2 separate regions of the Homo sapiens genome follow, and region 2 is linked to region 1. The links are contacts of gene promoters, found by promoter capture Hi-C in human tissues and cell types (Jung and others, 2019). All regions are on one chromosome and are shown on one strand. The core of a region is centred on a gene start or on the middle of the fragment in contact, and the rest is flanking DNA. Distances in the headings are between cores, read along the strand shown.

Region 1 (3,547 bases), core at 879-3,378:
GGGAGGCGGAGGTTGCAGTGAGCCGAGATTGTGCCACTGCGTTACAGCCTGGGTAGGAGAGTGAGACTCCATCTCAAAAAAAAAAAAAGTACCGAGAAGGCATTCACTGAAGTATTATTTAAGCAGTAAATGTGTAGTAGTCACAAATCTGACACCAGATTTGCAGTTTGAAAAGATTAGTCTTGCTGCTCTGTGGAAAATGAATTGGAGTTAAGCAAGAAAAGGTGGAAATTCAGAGATGAGTGTAGCAATCCAAGAGGAATACGATAGTGGCTTTTACTAGCGTATTGGCATGCAAGTGGAGAGAAATGGATGGATTCAAGAGATAGGAAGTAAGATCAACAGGACTTGGTAATGGATTGCACTAAGGGGATTAAGGGAAGGGAGATAACAAGGAACATGACTCACTTTTTAGTTACGCAACTAGATTGCTAGTAATACCAATCCCTGAGATAAAGAACCCTAGAAGAAGGTCTTTGATACCCCTTACCCCCACTGGAATATTTCTTAAAAGACAGAAGAGGCAGTCACTTGCAGATTAAAGATATTGGAGAGGAATGAGGAGCAAAGTCTTTGGCCTTGGAGGAGGGCCATGTCCCATTTCCTTTGAACTAGAGAGAAGGATGGGGTTGAGCAAGTTGCATAAATTTTTGAGGGGTAACAAAGAAAAATGAATTCTTTCATTTTTAGTAATAGAGCATTCAGTTACTGGGTGACAAAGGCCCCTGAAGTATCCAGGCAGCTATATTACTTATTCCCGGCAATCCAAAGGTTTTTAGACCTGTTCTGCCCACTACACTGTAGTAGTACTGTACTACAGTAGCCAGTAGCCACATGTGACTATCCAGCATCTGAAATGTGGCTGATCCAAATTGGGATGTATTCTAAGTGTAACACACACCAGATTTCTTAAACTTCGCATTAAAAACAGAACAGAACATAAGTATTTTTTAAAATATTGAGACTCGGCAGCCAGGTGCGGTGGCTCACGCCTGTAATCCAGCACTTTGGGAGGCCGAGGCGGGCAGATCACGAGGTCAGGAGATCGAGACCATCCTGGCTAACATGGTGAAACCCCGTATCTACTAAAAATACAAAAATTAGCCTGACGTGGTGGCAGGCACCTGTAGTCCCAGCTACTCGCGAGGCTGAGGCAGGAGAATGGCGTGAACCTGGGAGGCGGAGCTTGCAGTGAGCAGAGATTGCGCCACTGCACTCCAGCCTGGGTGACAGAGCGAGACTCCGTCTCAAAAAAAAAAAAAAAAAAAAAAAAAATATATATATATATATATATGAGACAGACAGACCGACCCCGGGCATCGTGACTCACGCCTGTAATCCCAGCACTCTGGGAGGTTGAGGCGGGCGGATCACTTGAGGTCAGGAGTTCGAGACCAGCCTGGTAACATGGCGAAACCCCGTCTCTACTAAAAATAACAAAAATGAGCCGGGTGTGATGGCGGGCGCCTGTAATCCCAGCTACTTGGGAGGCTGAGGCAGGAGAATCGCTTGAAGCCAGGAGACGGAGGTTGCAGTGCGCCGAAATTGCGCCGCTTCCAGCCTGGGCGACAAAGCGAGACTCCATCTCAAAAAATTTTTTGATTATATGTTGAAATAATACTATTTGGGATGTATGGGTTAAATAAAATATATATGATTGTTTCTATTTTGACTTTTAATGAGGCTACTGGAAATTTTTAAATTACGTATATGGTTCGAATTATATATCTATTGGACAGTGATGTTACAGATAGAAATACAGCATAGTCAGGAGAATCGCTTGAACCGGGAGGCGAAGGTTGCAGTGAGCCGAGATCGCGCCTCTACACTCCAGCCTGAGCAACAGAGCAAGACTCCGTCTCAAAAAAAAAAAAGAAAAAGAAAAAAATTCAGCCGAGTGCTGCAAGATACGTCATTCTAGTTGAAGGAATATCTAAGCCAACAAGCGGCTCCCATCATCCGGTTTCACGCCTCTCTAAGACGCAGCCAGGGCTGCGGGACTTGAAGCGCGGGAATCTCGGCCCTGGCACCGACTCCCCGGAAAAACTACAGGGCCCGGCATGCACTGCGCGCCTCTGGGAGCGGGAGCCGAAAGGAACCGGCGCTTTGTGACGTCACGTCCGCCTTACCGGCGGATTAAGCTCGCTTTCTTCTAGGCGCGTTTCCTGAAGGTGGGAGGGGAGCGTCCGCGAGGCGCTGGGGCGACGGGGCAGGTTTATCCGGGCTAACTTTGCCGAGTCTGTTTTTGAGGGAAGAGGTTGTGAGGATCGTATCTTCCGGGACGCGTTTCACGTGGGAAGGCGCTCCACGCCTGGAACTGTCAGCAGCCGGCGCCTGAAGAGCTCCTGGCGCGGGGCCTCTGGCCTGGCAGCCGCAGGACCCAATGGATCAGGCGCTCACGCTGTTCTCACTGCATGGCTTCAGTGCCTTGCCTGGCACCTCCTATCCTGTAACTGGCCGACTCGGGGTCCCACCCAGGCTTCTCCAGCGGCCGGGAAGGGGCTCTGCTTCCGGAAGTGTTTAGGAAGGGAGCCAGCGTAAACCAGAGTCCCTTCCTCCAAGCATCGCTGAAGCCTTTTCTCCCCTGGCAGCCGACTTCCTTTTCTTTGGAAAGGACGTCAGTTTTTTTAGCTTGTTGAAACTGTTCAGAGATGCGGTCTTGTGGGCAAATAAATGCCTGTTTAGCTGAGCTGTTATTTTCAGCTAAGAAGTTCTTCAAGTTTTCAAGATCTAGGAGGGGGTGTAGGCTCGAATTATAATGGACCCAGTGTAGCAAAACATTTATTCATTTAAACAATTGTGCATGCTCATTCAGACGCACTACCTGAGTGAGATGATGCCGTTCTGGGCTGCTTCATCTTAAAGAGAGTCACTGTTTCTTCTGGCAACTTCTACCTGCCTTGCCTATCGAGGTTTGTGAATTGCACCTCTGGTTTAATTTCAGGTCGATGGCCAGGTGGTCTTCATAAACTATACTGCCTTGTGATGCCTCCCTAGAAATGAGAGGTGAGTCCCTTCCAAACGAGGATTCTAGGATCTCATGCTTTCTTTTCTTGACAAGGCTTGCCCTGGCCCTCTGACTTTCAAGTCACAGGGTCTCACTTCCTGCAGATTTTTGTTTTAAATCACTGTGGTCTGATTTACCAGTAGCATTCACTACAGTAGCGAGCCTGCACGTTGCGCTGCAGGGGATTCATAACAATACCATCTTTCAAAAGCTGCATGCACTGGAGCTCAGGAAAGCCTTTTTTGTTTTTTTGAGAGGGAGTCTCGCTCTGTCACCCAGCCTGGAGTGCAGTGGCACAATCTCGGCTCATTGCGACCTCCGCCTCCCGGGTTCAAGCGATTCTCCTGCCTCAGCCTCCCGAGTAGCTGGGACTACAGGCACGCGCCATCACGCCCGGCTAATTTTTTTGTATTTTCAGTAGAGACAGGGTTTCACCACGTTGGCCAGGCTGGCCTCGAACTCCTGACCTCAGGTGAGCCACCGCGCCCGGCCTTCAGTTTGGTTTTACAGTGCTTAGCTATGTCTATCACAAGCTCATCT
Region 2 (3,311 bases), core at 233-2,732, 580 kb after region 1:
TTACTAAATCTCATTGTACATTTATAATGTATGAATATTATGGTATGTCAACTATACCTCAGTTTCAAAACAGTAACAACCAATATCCCACAACATCTGGAGGATCCCTAACTGCAGGTTCCTATATACAGTGAAAATCTTTTGGGATACTTTCTGGTAGAACTGTAGTTTTCTGGCAAAGAACTATGAAAGGGATTTCTCTATTAACAGTGCTTCTTCAACAACAGCACACGTAAGAATCACCTGGAACACCTGTTGACAGACCAACCCCTCTCTTCCCACTGGATTCAGTAGGTCTGGGGTGGGGCCCATAAATCTGCATTCCTAAAAGCTCCAGGACCAGTCATTAAAAACAGAGATTTCAAAGTCTCACCAGAGATGTATTATATCCAAATCTCTAACAAAGGGGAACCTGGGAATCTGTACCTCTTACAAGTATCAGGGAGAATCTTATGATTGATCTCATGGTTTAGTACTCCATGAGCTACAACACTCTCGTATACCATTAACTCCAAGGATTTTTATAAGTAGTTTCAAGAGTAAAATCTGTGTGTTCCTGGGTTGAAAATGACCAAGTAAATTATCTGTATTTTAAGTGGTTCTAAAGTCTTTAGGGTTCTGCCTTTGGCCTCCCTAAATAAAGCAATTTGCAGGAAAGCAACTTATATTTATTCACAGTATTCTAAATATGCTTCCACATTAAAAAAAAAAGTTTTCCAAACAAATTAAAAATAATAAATAAAACAGAAAGTTTTTGCCATTAAAAACATTTAGGCCACTTTTCAAGTTTAGTCTAATTTTAAATCTGTTCATTTCAAAACCACATTTTTTCTATATTTTTAACAGGGGTATGTAATTGTTAGATCTATAGGAACTATTAATTCTGCACAATTCTGATAGGCACTGAGAACAGCAGCAACAGTGCCATTTTCAATGGTTCAATTCAAGGATTTATCACATACCTACTGGAATGTAATGCTGTGCTTAACACAGAGATTAAACACAGAAGAAGATATGGTTCTTACCAGGAATTCACCAGTGATTATAAAACAATAGTACTCAACATCACTGTATACTGGAGCAGATGGGGAAATTTTACAGAAGTAGGACTGTGTCCTAGAAAAAAAAAATAACAGCACTTAAATTATTTTCAATTTCTCTTATCAGTATGGCTCAAAGGAGTGGGAGGACTCATCATCTTGCACACTGGAATGCCATGTTGTATGAAACAGAAAGAGCCAGACTGCAGATCGTGCTTAGAAGAACACACACACAGGACTTCCTGGAGAGCATCTTACTGTTTCTTCAGAGATTCTTATTTAACTGGCTTACAGTGGGGCTCAAGCTCCCCAAGGAAAGTGTTCTGTGGTAAATTATGTTTCTAAAGATAGTTGCAACAATAGTGTCCATCTTACCAGCTCTTCAGCAATGTCCCCTCTCCTGCCCTTCCCCTTGTCACAATGCCAAACCAAATTCTTGTTTTGACCAACGGAAGGTGGAGAAAGCCACATCATGTAACTTCCAAGGCTAGTAGGCCCTAGGAGAATTACAGCTTCTGCCTTTGCTGCCTGGTATGCTCACTTTTGGAATTTAGCTTCCAAATAACAAAAGCCAAGCTAGTCACAACTAGGGAGACAGCCACAGCGAGAGAGAGAAGGCTTTGCCTCCTCATCATGCCCACCAACTTGCCAGATGTGTGAATGAAGCCATCTTAGCCATTCCAGTCACTGACTACAATGTCATGAGACACCCCAGCTGTTAGTCACATAGAGAAGAACCATCCAGCTGAGCCCTGCCTGAATTCCCAAGTCATAGAATTATGATCAAATATAAAATAGATGTTGTTTTAAGCCATTAAGTTTTGAGGTAGGTTTTGTTGCCTAACAACAGACAACAAAAATAGGCTTCAAGTCTGCCCTAGAATATTCTTCTAGGTAAATGATATGCAATCATAGTCAACATATATGAACTTGGTCACTACATCTCAGGAATAAGAGAAGCTTGAAATCTAGCTACCAGAAGGAAGAAAATAAGTGTTCACAAGCAAGATCCAATCCACTTCCTCATCATAGACTTTTCCACATTTGTCAGCAAAAGGTTTTGTTGCTTCCCAAATTTTGTATTAGGAAAACAGGTTATATGAGTGCTTTAACTCCTTTCTAAAGGCCATGCTAACTAAAATCAGTGGTTAGTGAGATGTTTTCAGCTCAGTACTCTCCTGCCTCTAAGCACATTCTATTCATAGATTTGGGGTCCAGAAACCATTTTTTACAATGTTAAAGGAGATGGAAGAAAAGGTGAATTGGAGAGAAGGTCTGGGGTGGGGGAGATCTACCCACAAACAAGAAGAGTGGGCCAGGAATGCTGGCTCATGCCTGTAATCGCAGCACTTTGGGAGGCCTAGGTGGCAGATCACCTGAGGTCAGGAGTTCCAGACCAGCGTGGTCAACATGGTGAAACCCCGTCTATACTAAAAATACAAAAAATTAACCAGGCATGGTGGTGCACACTTGTAATCCCAGCTACTTGGGAGGCTGAGGCATGATAATCGCTTGAACCCAGGAGGCAGAGACTAGATTGCGCCACTGTCCTCCATCCTGGGTGACAGAGGGAGACTGTGTCTCCAAAAACAAAACAAAACAAAACAAAAAAACAAAAGAGTGAAGACCAAGTGACATTAAAACTGAGTACTTCCCGGCTGCCTTGTTTAATAAATGAGGCAAAAGACTGGCATTGCACACCTATCTACTGATGTAGTTCCAATCTTAAGAGTTTGCTGAAACAGGAGGAACAAAAGATCCTGGATGAATACAGATCTCAACAGTATCATCCATTCTGCTCATCATGAAAGCTTCAAAAGATGCTGCTGGAATCGACAGATTGAAATTCTAGCTCTGTCAATTCCCATCTGTAAGATGGAAATAGTTTATTTCCACCTCTTGGGATTGTTGTGAGGAAAAAAATAAGAGCATGTGTAAAGTACTAACCAAGTGCCTGGCACAGAACAGGCACACAAGAACTGTCAAGTTCATGCTCACCTTCTCTCTTCTCTCCCAAATCAACACAACTGGACCTATAAAAGTGCTGCATAGTCCAAGCATCTTCTCGAATATACTCTAAGCAAACATAATAAAGAAATGAAATCACATATGGCTCAATTCAGAGTGGCCGAGGGAATTAAACATACGTGTGTATAATACATACATACAAACATATACCATCCAGGTGTAATCTGGACAAATCTTTACCCAGTTATCACAAAGGTATTAGTATCCCTTTTAAACATTTAAAGTTTGAACAGCTGAGAAAGA

Evidence for each region. Contacts are between HindIII fragments. The study calls those that stand out against the background at their distance.
Region 2: a fragment that was not itself captured here is called in contact with the fragment with the promoter of ADAT1 in region 1 in 1 of the 25 tissues and cell types used here (spleen).

Annotation. Positions count from the first base shown.
Region 1 is chr16:75,621,862-75,625,408 of GRCh38, reverse strand. It overlaps ADAT1 (adenosine deaminase tRNA specific 1), which reads left to right and starts at 2,128. Exons shown (of 10, transcript NM_001324445.2): 1 at 2,128-3,006. RefSeq lists enhancers at 1,815-2,334, 2,214-2,453, 2,335-2,854, 2,855-3,374, 3,375-3,547. The HindIII fragment of the contact is 9,595 bases long and covers 1-3,547 here.
Region 2 is chr16:75,036,680-75,039,990 of GRCh38, reverse strand. All of the region lies in intron 1 of ZNRF1 (zinc and ring finger 1), which reads right to left. Among named protein-coding and RNA genes, the nearest start is that of ZNRF1, 39 kb to the right of the region's middle. The HindIII fragment of the contact is 4,304 bases long and covers 1-3,311 here.